2 separate regions of the Homo sapiens genome follow, and region 1 is linked to region 2. Evidence: promoter capture Hi-C in 16 types of primary human blood cells and fetal thymus (Javierre and others, 2016). All regions are on one chromosome and are shown on one strand. The core of a region is centred on a gene start or on the middle of the fragment in contact, and the rest is flanking DNA. Distances in the headings are between cores, read along the strand shown. Region 1 has its middle 19 kb from the start of USP44. Region 2 holds the start of NTN4 (netrin 4).

What was found. The method cuts DNA at HindIII sites, captures the fragments that hold promoters and counts their contacts. A CHiCAGO score of 5 or more calls a contact.
Region 1: a contact is called between a fragment that was not itself captured here and the fragment with the promoter of NTN4 in region 2, in 1 of 17 cell types (endothelial precursors). The highest score is 6.0, in endothelial precursors.

What each region holds. Positions count from the first base shown.
Region 1 is chr12:95,566,829-95,574,202 of GRCh38, forward strand. No RefSeq gene overlaps it. Among named protein-coding and RNA genes, the nearest start is that of USP44, 19 kb to the left of the region's middle. RefSeq lists an enhancer at 7,297-7,374. The HindIII fragment of the contact is 4,783 bases long and covers 117-4,899 here.
Region 2 is chr12:95,786,810-95,794,264 of GRCh38, forward strand. It overlaps NTN4 (netrin 4), which reads right to left and starts at 3,955. Exons shown (of 10, transcript NM_021229.4): 1 at 3,446-3,955; 2 at 130-659. The coding sequence starts at 3,500. It also overlaps the pseudogene RNU6-247P. The HindIII fragment of the contact is 5,039 bases long and covers 1,385-6,423 here.

The DNA.
Region 1 (7,374 bases), core at 1,258-3,757, 220 kb before region 2:
CATAAGACAGATATTTGACACTGCTTTAATATGGTAATGGTACTCAATATATGGAGTTGCTACTGTTACTGAATTAAGACTTATGCTGTCTTAATACATGAGATACTTTGTTGCTAAGCTTTCCCCCTTCCTCCTCTCCCCCGCCCCACACACAGACATCACCTTCAAGCAGATACCCTTCCTCTTCTCTGCGTTCTCTTCCTGTTCACTGGCCCCTTACCTTCGGCTTTCAAGCATGCATATTTATCCATATCTTGAAAGAAATTGCTTGGCCGATTGCTTCCTGTCTCAACCACATTATTCCTCTTCTTCCTTACGTCATCAGTGAGAAAACTGTATTAGCAGATTTCAGTGGTATAGCAGTAATCTAGTGGGCATACTGTGTTTCACTACAAATGCATTCTTTCTTTCTTTCTTTTTCTTTTCTTTTTTTTTTTTTTTTTTGAGACGGAGTCTTGCTCTGTCGCCCAGGCTGGAGGGCAGTGGCGCAATCTCGGCTCACTACAAGCTCCGCCTCCCGGGTTCACGCCATTCCCCTGCCTCAGCCTCCCGAGTATCTGGGACTACAGGCGCCCGCCACCACACTCAGCTGATTTTTTGTATTTTTAGTAGAGACGGGGTTTCACCATGTTAGCCAGGATGGTCTCGATCTCCTGACCTCGTGATCTGCCCACCTTGGCTTCCCAAAGTGCTGGGATTACAGGCGTAAGCCACTGCGCCCGGCCTAAATGCATTCTCTTTCAATCTCCAATCTACTTAGAGATATGGCTCGCCTCCCCCTGCCGACTTCACTTACCAGTTTGTATTAATTATCAATGGGCTCTGAAGTAATAATGACAGCAAAATATATCCTCAATAGTTTTATATATTGTCAACCACTAATGGAACATTTTTCTTGTTTATGACTTACAGCCATGGCAATAAGACGGTCTCAGTCGTATTTTTCTCAATCCTGTAACTTTCTGTAAACGAGAGCTTTAATAAAAAGTTCAGGCCCGGCGTGGTGGCACACGCCTGTAATCCCAGCACTTTGGGAGGCCGAGGCAGGCGGATCACGAGGTCAGGAGATGGAGACTATCCTGGCTAACACGGTGAAACCCCGTCTCTACTAAAAATACCAAAAAAATTAGCTGGGCGTGGTGGCGGGCGCCTGTGGTCCCAGCTACTCGGGAGGCTGAGGCAGGAGAATGCGTGAACCTGGGAGGCAGAGCTTGCAGTGAGCCGAGGTCACACCACTGCACTCAAGCCTGGGCGACAGAGCGTGACTCCGTCTCAAAAAAAACAAAAAACAAAAAAAGTTCAGAAACATACATTTCTCTCTCTCTCTCTCTCTTCTTCTTCTTCTTTTTTTTTTTATGAGACAGAATCTCACTCTGTCACCCAGGCTAGAGCGCAGTGGTGCAATCTCAGCTCACTGCAGCCTCCACCTCCTGGGTTTGACTGATTCTCCCGCCTCAGCTTTCCAAGTAGCTGGGACTGCAGGAGTGCGCCACCACATCCGGCTCTCTCTCTCTCTCTTTTTTTTTTTTTTTTTTGTATTTTTGGTAGAGACAGGGTTTCACCATGTTGGCCAGGCTGGTCTCCAACTCCTGACCTCAAGTGATCTGCCCGCCTCGGCTTCCCAAAGTGCTGGGATTACAGGCATGAGCCACCGCGCCCAGCCTTTCTCTGATATTTTAAAATCATGACTCTATAATAGTTATTGGTGAATACAAAATGTTGAAAACCTCCGGTTTATACCTGCTGCCTCCATTTTGTTTTCTTTTTCTTTTCTTTCTTTTCTGTCTTTTTTTTTTTTTTTTTTTTTTTTTTTTTGAGACGTAGTCTCGCTCGGTCACCCAGGCTGGAGTGCAGTGGCGCAATCTCGGCTCTCGGCTCACTGCAAGCTCCGCCTCCCGGGTTCACGCCATTCTCCTGCCTCAGCCTCCTGAGTAGCTGGGACTACAGGCGCCCGCCACCTTGCCTGGCTAATTTTTTGTATTTTTAGTAGAGACCAGGTTTCACCATGTTAGCCAGGATGGTCTCGATCTCCTGACCTCGTGATGCGCCGGCCTCGGCCTCCCAAAGTGCTGGGATTACAGGCGTGAGCCACCGCGCCCGGCCACTGCCTCCATTTTCTTTATGTTTGCTTCTTCCTTAGCTGCCTACACTGAGGCTTCCCCTCTTACTGCTTTGGAAATGTTCTCTTGAAACAAAGCTACCAACAATTCCTTTCTTGTCAAATTCAAAAGCCACTGATTTTACTTCACTATTTGCCAACGCTGATCGTGCTTCTTTTCTTGAAACATTCTCTTCATTTTCACTGTCAGACCATACATCATCCTGGATGCATCCGGACAGAATGAGAACTGTGGCTGCTGCTGCTCCTACTGTAATTGTTACTCCTTTTACTTAGTAGTCATCTTTCCTTCACTGCTTACTGTAATTTCCACAGCAACCCTGAGGAGATCGGTATTATTATCCCCATTTTACAGTTGAGGAAACATGCTCAAAATTTAATCAACGGGTTCAAATTCACACACCAGAACAGGATCTGCTCTGGGAAATGTTAGATTTTGCAACGGAAAAGAAGAAAAAGTTTTTTCTAACTGGATCACAGCATACTATGTTGTTTATATTTAGATTAACTAGACTTTGTTTTATTCCATTTATCTGTAGTTTTGGGAAGTACTGTACATTTGGAAAGATGTCATTTCAAGTAATTTTTCTACCCAGGCTGTCCATTTACAATTACCTGGTCACCTTTGAATCACTTTCACCAAAATCAGAGAAGGTGGCTAGATAGCAAGTTGTGATATGCCACTGATTTTTTTTTCTCCCTTTTCAAGTTAAGTGGCTCCTGTAAGAATGGCCATGCAACCTTGGATTTATTCAGAGAATGCTCTAACCACATACACTACATCAAAAAGTATAGTCTCAGAATTTGACAGATGACAATAAAAATTTCCAATTAAACTATGTATTATAAATTGTTCAATTTTTGGCAGAGTGGATCTTATTGAAGGCACCATAATGATAAGGTAGGATTTAGTTACATACTTTAATTACATACATACTTTGTTTTCTCAAGCAAATGTGTAACAATGGTGTGATCTAGCTACAAAATATTTCCTTAAGATTTTTGTTGGCATGTCAGTGCTAACAATTAGGAATTAAGTGTTTTAAATTTAATCTGAAATTAGTGGTTTAAATACAATGATAAATGGTTTTCATGGTTGTCAGCCTTCATTTAATGTTATATTAAACCTCTTGAGTATGTTATACCACTACTTTGTTATTTAACTGATGGATCTGAAAACCCATAAAGATGCAGTATTTGTCTTACAAATAGCAAATGTATAGTCTTTGATTTGATCATTTAATGTACCCTTTTTTACACAGCCATTTGGCTTTAATCCTGTAACAGGTTATTGTCACTTGTCTTTTCTTTATCTACCAAAATGCCTTCAGTCATTTCATGAATAAATCAATGGAGGGAAGAGAGAAATATGAGTTATCCCAAAGATATATTAATGGCATTATTCCAATATAAATGGAATGAGGAAAAGAAGAATTATGCATTAGTAATGATGTTTTTCATTGCAGAGCAATTTCTACCTCGCAAAGGATTTTCATACAGATCCTCTTTCTTCATACTTAGCATTATATAGCTGAGGAAATTATAGTATTAAGTGACTTGTCTGAAGCCACACAGCAAGCATCAGATCTGGAATTAGAAAGCAAGTCTTCTCATGACCAGCCATTGTTCTTTTATAGTTTACCTTATAGATGGCATGAAAGTGACTTTTTTGTGGAATAGTTATTACAACTTCTCACCCCCCAATGTATCTACTTGTGAAAATAATGGGTTTTTTGTTTTGTTTTGTTTTGTTTTGTTTTGTTTTTTGAGACGAGTCTCGCTCTGTCGCCCAGGCTGGAGTGCAGTGGCGCGATCTCGGCTCACTGCAATCTCTGCCTCCCGGGTTCAAGCAATTCTCCTGCCTCAGCCTCCTGAGTAGCTGGGATTACAGGCGCCCACCACCACGCCCAGCTAATTTTTGTATTTTTAGTAGAGACGGGGTTTCACCATGTTGGTCAGGCTGGTCTCGAACCCCTGACCTCATGATCCGCCCGCCTCGGCCTCCCAAAGTGCTGGGATTACAGGCATGAGCTACCACACCCGGCCTGACTTACATGTTAAGGTGTCCAAATTGATTGAGATGTTCTTCTATCATAATTTATAGAATCTCTTCTACCATAATTTACTTCTTAACTGATGACCTTGGAGAATGAGCAGAATAACAGATGAGAAAGGGCTCAGGGAGAAAGAGAAATGTATATGCTCTCACTGGGCATGGTAGCTCATGCTTGTAGTCTCAGCACTTTGGAGGCCCAGGCAAGAGGATTGCTTGAGTTTAGAAGTTTGAGACCAGCCTGGGCAACATAGCAAGACCTCGTCTCTACTAAACATAAAAAAAAAAAAAAAAAAAAAAAAAAAAAAAAAAAAAAAAAAAAAAAAAAAAAAAGCTGAACATGGTGGCACGCCTGTAGTCCCAGCTACTTGAGAGGTTGAGATGGGAGGATCGCTTGAGCCTGGGAGATCAAGGCTGCAGTGAGCTAAGATTGCACCATTGCACTCCAGCTGGGTGGCAGAGTGAGACCCTATCTCTAAAAAAAAAATGTAAAAAAGAGACCGAGATGTATGTGTTCTCTACACTACTCATTATAAGGATGCAGGTGGGGATCAACTGGTTTATAAACAAGGTTTTACTTCCTCTTCCTGATCTGAACTGTATCATCATTTCCTCTATCTTTATTTGATGTGAAATGTATTGATGGTCATATATCAATTTCTTCTGTAGACTCAGTGATACAGGAAGTGTCCTGGTAAGCACTGGCACCCAAAACAGTAAAGATAAAAGCTTTAGTCTGAATTTTGCAGTTGGGAAAGTTGAAGTTGAGGGTGAAATGACTGAGCCACAGTGGGTTACTTAGCTTCCTGATACCAAGGCAGAGCTGTTTCCTCCAGGATTTGGTGACTTAGTAACCTCCTCCTGTTACTAGAAATTTCTCCTTTAGAGAAAACCAAAATTTGCTTCATTGTGATATTTACCCTCTGGGCCTATGTTTGCCCTCCAAGTCTGCATTGAACAAACGACTTTCTCCTTGTCTCCCCTGCATATGTCTTATGCAGCTTAGGGTCAGAAGTGGATTTGATTTCTGAGGAAACATCACCAACCAAGAATCTTTTTGTTTTTCCAGATAGAGGGTTTTGCTCTGTCACCCAGGCTGCAGTGCAGTGGTACCATCACAGCTCACTGTAGCCTCACACTCCTGGGCTCAAGTGATCTTCCCACCCCAGCCTCCTGAGTGTCTGGGATTACACGGGAGCCCCACCATGCCCTGCTATTTTGTTTTTAAATTTTTGTAGAGATGGGGTCTTGTTAGGTTGCCCTGGCTAATCTTGAACTCCTGCCTCAAGCGATCCTCCCTCCCCAGCCTCCCAAAGTGCTGGGATTACAGGTGTGAGCCACTGCACCTGGCTGTCCAAGGGACTTCTAAACAAAGCTTATTTTTGTTATAATAAAAACAAATGAAGATTAAGCAATCTAAAGACAAAGCCTCCTGAGTAGCTAGGACCACAGTGGCCCATCACCATGCCCAGCTAATTTTTGAATTTTTTGTAGGAACAGAGTTTCTCCATGTTGCTCAGGCTGGTCTGCAGCTCCTGGGCTCAAGCGATCCTCCTGCCTCAACCTCCCAAAGTGCTGTGATTACATATATGAGCCACTGTGCCTGGGCTAGTACATTGTGTTTTATCTCACTCTCTCATCTCAGAGGGAGGCTGAGGTAATTTATGCATATACACATGCACACACCCCATTTGTTGGACATCTACAATGTTCCTAATCCTTACAAGTTAGATTTTATTATCCCCATTTTACAGATGAGGAATCTGTGGTTAGATAACTCTTTAAAATCACTCAGCTAGAAAGTGGCTACAGTGGCATTAGAACTAAAAATTCCCATGGGATGAATGCCTTGGCTTTAAGTCCTTGCTCTTTTCACTGTAATATGCTGCGTGTCTGATCACATGGAATATTTGTGGTAAAGGTAAGAAACTTCAGAAGGCCACAGAACTAGTTTTGGAGCTGGAATCAGTTTTATGTTGTCTTGATTTTGTTCCTATTTGCTTGTGTAGTTTGCTAGATGTTACTTGCTTGAAAAGAAGTATCAATTGGGCTCATTTTTCCCCAAGTCCTTACAAACAGTGGTGCCTGTTTGATGCTTTGATTTAAAAAGAAATTGATAGTACCTTTAAGACTGTATGGATGGCAAGCTACTCCAAGGCTGGACTACATCTCTAGTTTCCTGAAAATGATTCCTCTCTAGGATTTACAGTTTGCTGGCTTTTAAGACATAATAGAAAACACAATTCTCTCCTTAAGCCCTGCAAGTCCTTGGCCGGGCGCAGAAGCTCACACCTGTAATCCCAGCACTTTGGGAGGCCAGGGCGGGGGGATCATGAGGTCAGGAGTTCAAGACCAGCCTGGCCAACATGGTGAAACCTCGTCTCTACTAAAAATACAAAAATTAGCCTGGCATGGTGGTGTGCGCCTGTAATCCCAGCTACTCAGGAGGCTGAAGCAGGACAATCGCTTGAACCCGGAAGTTGCAGTGAGCCAAGATTGCTTCATTGCACTCAAGCCTGGGTGACAGAGTGAGACGAGACTCTGGCTCAAAAAAAAAAAAAAAAAAAAAAAAAAAAAAAAAAAAAAAAAAAAAGCCTTGCAAGTCCTGAGGGGGCCCAGTGCTAAGACAAACGGATATGGTCATTTTCCCAAAAGGTTAAGGAGAATAGTTAGGTACAAGAATACCACACACCATCCTCAAACGGACAGAATTTTTGCCAGATACTGTTAATAAGTCAGATTTAATTGATAGATGGGTAAGATCTGAAATAACAGTCAGTCAAAAACAAGGCCTTTATTCTTCAAATCATTCTAAACTCCAAACTTCCCCCAAATGGCTTGAGATCACATTAAAGCCCAAACCTTCCATTTCTAAAGGAACAGAAATACATCGCAGTTCCCCGAATTCTCTTTCCCTTCAGCGTTGCCTGTCTACTCAGTTTAGACTGTTCTGAACTATCAGGCTCCGGGGTGGTGGCAGGCTCTGCTCACCCCAAGCTTTCCATTTTGATCAGTTTAATTCCCTAGGAGCCGACGACTGCCATCGGAAGGAAGAGAAATTGTGAGCTCGCGCTGGGCTGCCGGGGAGGGGAGGGCTGGCCAGTGAGGACTCCTATCTCTGGGGCTGGTCACCCAGCCTCAAACAAATCTGCATCACCCTGGGGGGTCTCACCCCTTTTTCTATGTCAATGATCCCCATTTG
Region 2 (7,455 bases), core at 2,705-5,204:
ATAAATCTCATGAAAAATTCTAATTTCATTCATGTTGCTACAAGTATAGCTTCATGCTTTAAAAAAAAATGCGGGCTGGTAACATTTTTCTATCTTACTTACAGTGTAGAGTTAAACAGGTGCCCTTACCTCTCCTCCAGTGCATGGAAAAGGACTGGAGTATTTAGAAGTACAAATAGCGCCCTTCTTGACAACATCATCTTCCAGGCCAAATGTAGCGGAGCAGTTAGTCGCAAAGTACTTATAAGGCTTCCATGTTTTCCCAAAGTCCTGGGAGCGGTCCAGCACCATGGCAGCCGGCCTGGGGGACTTGAACATCACAATTAGGTGAGTGAAGTAGAATTCAGCTTCCAGGTCTAACTGGATCTTTTCTCTGTGCACATCCTCCGCAGACTGCCACCATGTGCGAGGAAACCGGAAGGATGAGTCTGCCATGGCAGATGGCAGGTGAGCCAGGTGAGGATAGGCAGCATTGCACTTGTCACATTTGGGCTGCCGACAAGTCAGATCCGTGTTCTCACTGTAGAAGCAGTACAGTTCGGTAGCATTCTGACCGCAGGTGGTGTCTGCCCAGAGTTTTCGCCCCAAAGCCAAATTTCCCATCCGAGGGTTGCAGGCTTTTTCACAGCGGGAACTCACTCCAGCTACTCCACTCAGTCCTAAGAAAGGGAAAGCATGCATGATGCAAGACAAACCCATCTGGAAAGCTCTTTTGGCCACCTAGTCCATCAACAACAGTCAAGGATCTCCCCAAAAGCGCTTGAGACTTTCGATAAATGGCAAATTCTACCATGCTCCACCATGTTCCTGTTTGAGCATGAACACTGTTCTGCATTCACAATGCATTCGTGTATGCGTGTGTGTGTGCGTGTGTGTGTGTATTTGCTTTTCATGTTCAGATGTAAAATTCACATCACAGAAACAAACACTTTAGGCAGAGGGCAAGAGGAGGGAAAATAGAACCACCAGGGTGAAGATTATTGGCCTAAAACTTTTCAAGTACTTTGCCTTATAAATGTTTTCTGTATTTCAAATACATTGATGTGTTTTTGAAGTCATGACTATTGAAAAACCATAATGTTTTTAAGACCACCTAAGTTAGTCTTTCAAATTTAATGTGAGTCCTTCACATGATTTAACATGTTTATTATGAGAATGTATTTAGAAGGAAATGTGGAATTCTATTTTCTTTATATTTTTAAGCCAGGGAAGGGATAAATTCCCTAGGAAAAGCAATATGAGATATTTAATAAATATACAATGGGTCCTCATTTAGAGGGAGGCAAAGCTAGAGACCTTTGGAGTTCAGATGTGCACTATCAGTTTCTAACATTACATAAACATAACTAAGAAAAAAACTCTCTGAACTGCCAAATGGCAGAAAAGCTTATTTTACATGCTGTCTCTTCAGGGTTTCTACCTGTGACAGGTTATAGAGTAGTTAACTGTTTGCTTAACAGGAGAGTGTCTACAGTCTGGCAGCCACTAACAGCACCTTTAAATATTATCTGTGAACTACAAGACCTTCTTTAAAAAACACACTTTTCCTCCCAAAGGTCCAACAGACTTTAATGTTTTAAAATGACTTAAAATGATAAACATTATCCACTTATTAACATTCTGAGTACATACTATAATCCTTTGATTTGCGTTTGTCATTTTAATTGTGAATACCTTAAGCAAAAATCATCTATTTTAAAGGTTAAAACAGAGGGGGAAAGAGGGAAAAGGAAATCAACCCTTAAATTCTGGCTAATTGAATGTTTCTGCTGCTTAAGAAGCAGTACCTCTGAACTGTTGTCATAGTAAGGATTGGAGGAGGCCAAATGACAGCTTAGGCTGCAACAGAGACATTTCACACACTGACAATGGCCAACCCCACGAAGCCTTGCAACTAAAGGGCTTCCTTAGGCATTATTTTTTAAATGTCAAATTAAAGTGTGCATTATGCCTGGGTTCTGTTTGCCACTTTTCTCATTAGCTGGGGCAACAGTTGCTTGTGGCCAGAAGCACACAAACACACAATGTGCTATGACTCACCTGTAAAAAATTTCAAGGAAAATCATATACTGCCTGTACAAGTATTTTTGACTTGAAACACTTGCCTTGTGATGTTTATTTACAACCTTTCAATGGCTTGCATGTTTTTGCCATAATATGGTTTGAGAAGGAAAAGGTTTTTTTTAAAGCTCATATTTTAAGAGTGCAAGAATTAAAGTAAAATCTTAGGCCTTTAATAGGTCCCTGGGAAAAATATCCAATAATTTTAAATGCCCCTAAACTCCTAAGTCCAGAAAAGATTTGAGCCAGATAAAGAATCCATGGGGCAAAATACTTGGAGTCACTCAAGGGACTATTCAATGATACTAAGGATGCTCCTGTGACTTGGACTGGTTTGGGATGCAGACTGGAAAGCCTGGATTTTGCTGGGTGCCAGCGGCCCTCAGGGAAGAGTGGAAGCCCAAGGGAGGAGATGCGTGCTACAATGTTCTGTAGCCACCAGCGCATCCCTCTAGCCCAGGCGCCCCTTTCTGAAGCAGTCAAGATCCGCACGAGAGACTGGATGTCTGCAGACTCCCTCACATCTCTCCCCCTCACCTACAGGGCTGCGCTTACGCCTAACTGGAAACCAGGTGACCCGCAAGAGGGAGGGAGAGGAGCAGAAGGGGCTCCCGAATACAGAAACCACGAGCCAGGAGCCGGTGGCCTAGGGCAGCCCAAGAAAGCCAGGATGGGAGTGGGAGGGAGAGGGCATCTGCCGACGCCGACGCCGGTTGTCCAGTTACCGAGCCAGGGAGCAGACCCGCCTCCGACCTCCCGCAGAGTCTCTGCCAGGGTACCAATTCCCCAGGGGCGGCCAGCCAGCTCAATGCAAGCCCGGGGTGATCACCACCTATCGTCCAAGCCAGGAGTCCCACTGCGTTCCAGTCACTGCTCCGGGGAGAGGGCGCTCAGCCCTGCCCCAGGTGTCCTTACCTGGTTCTCTAGTACCCAGCACCAGGTCAGGGACACCAGCGATGGGCTTCTACCAGAGACCGGCCCCAGCCCACGCGCGCCCAGGGTCGCTGGGCCACCCCTCCTCATCATTCCTTAGGCCATGAAGTGCCGGGGGATGGCGAGCTGGGTCCTTTGTTCCCTCACCAAGTGGAAAAGCAGTTTTTTAACAAGCCAAACCAAGAAAGAAACCCCGGTCGCAGTATCCCCGGCAGGGCGCACCCAGGATAGCTGGTTATCCAAGCGCATGTGTATCCCAGTTGTAAAAATAAATCAATAGTATTTGAAACTGCGGAGCCCCGGGGAAAGGAGGCGGAACATGGCCACTCATTTCACCCTCGGGAGCAGCGCTCTGCGCTCGCAGCCCTGGCTCCCCTGCACCCCCGAGTCCCGAGATGGGTTAGAGAAGCAGCGAGGGAAGGGGTGGGGGCCCCGCCGCGTCACCACCCACCTGCGGCCACCACCGTGCAGCCCCAGAGCAGCAGCAGCCGCGCGCAGCTCCCCATGGCCGGGAGGAGCCGGGAGCAGCCGGGCCGGGCGGGTGCCGGAGGGAGCCGAGACCTCTGGGCTGCGGGATGAAGCGCCGCCGTCCTCGGGAGGGAACGGGGCCCTGGTTTCTTCCTCCTCCTGGGGCGCCGGGCTCGGTCAGCGGTCGCCGGCAGCTGGGAGCCAGGGGCCGGGACCGCGCGGGGAGGTGGGGTGACCCTCGCGCACCGGCCTGGCGGGTCCCGGGCACCTGGGGGGCGGCGGGAGCCCCGGGACCATAGCCGGCCTGGCTGCGCTGCCCCGCGGAGCGGCCCTGCGGGCTCGTCTGCCGCTAGCCCGGGGCTCGGCGCCCGCAGCCGCCGCTGAACTTTGCGAGACCTTTCACTTCCCGGCCGCCGCCGCCGCCTCCTCCTGGGCGTCCTCCTCCGCTTTTCCCACCTCTTCTGGCTGCCCCGGCTCCGTCCCGTCCTTCTCCACGGGCAGTTCCATGCGATGCATTTTTATTGCACCGACGCCGCGGCGCTCCGGTGCCAGCCCTCCTCCCCTCGCACCTCCACCCCTTCCTCCCGCCCGCCCCCCGCGCTTGACAGCCCGGGCGGCGCAGCCCGCGGGATCGGATCGCCGCTGCCGCTGCCGCCCGGGGGGGGGGTCCCCCGCGCCCCGACCGACGCCCCCGACGCCCGGCTGCCCGCTGGTCCCGGTCGCCTCAGCCTGGCCCCCGGCTGCCCTGGCGCCCCTCCTGGCCCGCGCCCTGCATCTCCCTAGTGACCCCCCTGGTGCCCTGCAGCACCCACAGGCCTCCCCTGGGAAGCAATCTCCCACCTTCTCCCGGAACATTCCTAAGAGCAGTAGACTCCCTCTAGATCAGGTCAGGGCATGCCAAGGGGCTTAAAAAACCGCGAAACAGGCTAGCGCCTACTTCCCACATCCCCCAGCGAAACAAGCCCTCCCTCCTCCTCCAGCCACCCCCTCTCGGGGAGTCCCACGACCCGGGGACGGAACACCCCAACCCAGCCCCGCGTCACCCGCACTGAGAGCGCGCCAACTGCTAAGCGGCGTTCGCCGCTTCTCTGCTGCCTTTTGCGGGGGTAGGGGGATGTCTCGGCTAAACAATCGCTGCCTACATGATCCGAAGGTGTGCCCACTTTGGTGTAAGAGGTATTGCCTAACTCAAACTCAAGGTGCTGAAAGAAAAGGGTCACAGGATTAGCTAGTCGGCAGTGTAAGAACATCGTTGTCCAGAGGCAGGGCAAGGGCACGACAAAGGGAACTCTTCGGTCCTTCCAAGCGTTCTCCCTTTATAGAGTATGCCGTGCTGTGAAACAGTGTTAGGAACTAACTTATGGGGAGCAATTTAGTAGCAACCACACGCAGCTAATTGCAGATAGGATTGCTCAGGGCTGGTGCTTCTGGAAAGAGATTAAATAGCAGCCGAGTCTGAGATTTTTGCAAGTTCTGTGAAAATATAATTCTACTTACACATCCAGGGAAACTGGCAAAAGTTAAGTCGACAGCAATTTTGTATTGCAGTGCTCATTTTGTTCCTTTGAATATTTTCCAGAAAATTAACTACGTTCCAGATACCATTTAGTCGTTGTGTCTGTTACAGATGAGGATAATTCAGAGCTTTGGGATACATGTAGATATTATTTACAATGACCCAGCCAGGAACATATAAGAAGTTTATATCTCCCAGGGGGATCTGGGTTGAGGTCAGCATAATCCATTTGGGCGACATTAAAATTATTCTTCTGGCCAACAGAGGAAAGTAGCAGAAGGTGTGGACAGCAATTCATGTAGCATCACCTGCTTTAGAAAATAAACGCTTTGAGTTCCCAAATACTGGCAATGGTGGGGCTTTCTTCATATCTCCTAATGGAGCCATTGAAACACCTCTCCAATTAATCTTTTTACCAAATAAATGATAGGAAACTATAACAGCCAAAGGTTCTTAGCATAAATGTTAACTTAATAGCCAAGGCAAATTAAACAAAGGGGTGGATGCACATTTATTATTAACTTCTGAGTCTAGTATATTTAGGCAGAACTAATCCATTTCTGTTTTTTAATTAACAAATAAACTTGTATGTATTTATCATGTACAACATGATGTTTTGAAATATGTATACAGCGTGGAATGACTAAATCTAGCCAATGAACATATGCATTTTTGCATATTAACATGCATTTAAGAATACACTCACTGTCTTAGCATTTTTCAAGAGTACAATATATTGCTAAAAATATAGAATGCTTCACAAATTTGTATGCCATTCTCATGCAGAGGCCATGCTAATCTTCTCTGTATTGTTCCAATTTTAGCATATGTGCTGCCAAAGCAATCACAGAACTACTCCATATCTCATTACAAATTTCAAAGCCATTTACTGTCTGCACGAATCCTGCATTGATAATATATTTCTTTGCTGAATAACTGGCTCTTATTTCCTTTAACAAGACAGAAAGCTCTCTAATGGTAGAACAGTCTTTAATATTCAGTTTATACAAAACATTACTATGTTTTTCTGATATTTTTCCTTATTCTTAGCCAAGAACACCTACAATAAGTGTTCATTACATGTTTTTGACTGAGTTGTGTTAAAACTATTGTTATATACTAAGGGGCTAAGGAGACTAAGGACTAAGGAGAAAACCAGTTATATCACAATGATTTCCCATATTCAAAAGGAATCTGCACATTCGACACCAATACTATCTATATGAAAAGCTCAGGAGAGAAAAATAGTCAGCATTCTAATAAACATCATTTGCTTATATAGTCCAGTTTAGTTACAAAGGATATTTTCATTTTGAAGAAGCTATCCAAGAAAAGGTTACCTACATAAGAAAAATCTTGGATAAGTATATTATTGCCTATGATTTTGTTTTTGAAAACATCAGTCATGGATTCAGAATATTTTGTAATTTTATGAATTAGTAGGAAGCTTAGCAAACTTACAGAATTTCAATAACAATTCCCAGAAACCACAAAATTGATAAGTTAAATCTAGAATATTCCTGAGAACTTGAAAGGAAGTTAAAAGGGTCTTTAAAAAGTAAAATAAATGGCATAGCCAGGCGTGGTGGCATATGCCTCTGGTCCCAGCTACTTGGGAGGCTGAGGTGGGAGGATAGCTTGAGCCTGGGAGGTCGAGGCTGCAGTGAGCTGTGTTGGCACCACTGTACTCCAGCCTGGGCAACAGAGTGAGACCTTGTCTCAAAATAAATAAAATAAAATAAATGGCAAAACTCTTTGCACCAAAGACTTTACTCACAGGAGAGCCCTTCAGGACCTCACTTAAATCATTCATGTATTTTTATTAAGTTTGGTTATGACATCTTTCTAGATCACAGCCTATTAGAAGTAACAGATTAGAATGGAGCAGGATGTTATTAAAGACAGGGGATAAACTGAGGCAATCCAGTAATGAGAAGGATGGGAAAACTCTAAAAAGCAGCCATAAGTACAAAAACAAAACCAAAACATCCACAGCAGTCTGAGGCCTTCTAGTGCAGAAACAAAGGACGAAAAAGCTATAAAGGCATCACTCTCCGGTAACTTAGTAGAGTAAGTGAGGTTCCTAGTGGAGCGTAAGACATTCAGAATCAGGAGGGACCCTTGAGCCCAACTTCTCACTCCATCAAAACCCCTTTCCACAAAGCCTCTGTCCAAAGGTCATCCAGTTTCTGTTCTAAAAATCTCCATAAACAAGAGCCTCAAAGGCAATTCTGCTCATTTTTGGCACTGTTGTTCTATTTAAGTGGGATGTTTCTCTTCTTAAAATTCTGTGTTTATAGGTTAGTCATCTGCAACCATACAGAATAAGTCCAATTTCTCTTCTGGTAGGTATTCAATGATTTAAAGTAAAGTTTTAATAATTTTCATCTTAACTATCCTTTTAGTTTAAACACCCATATGACAGGATTCCCACACTTTTCACCATCTTAATCACCTCTTTTCAGATATACCCCAGC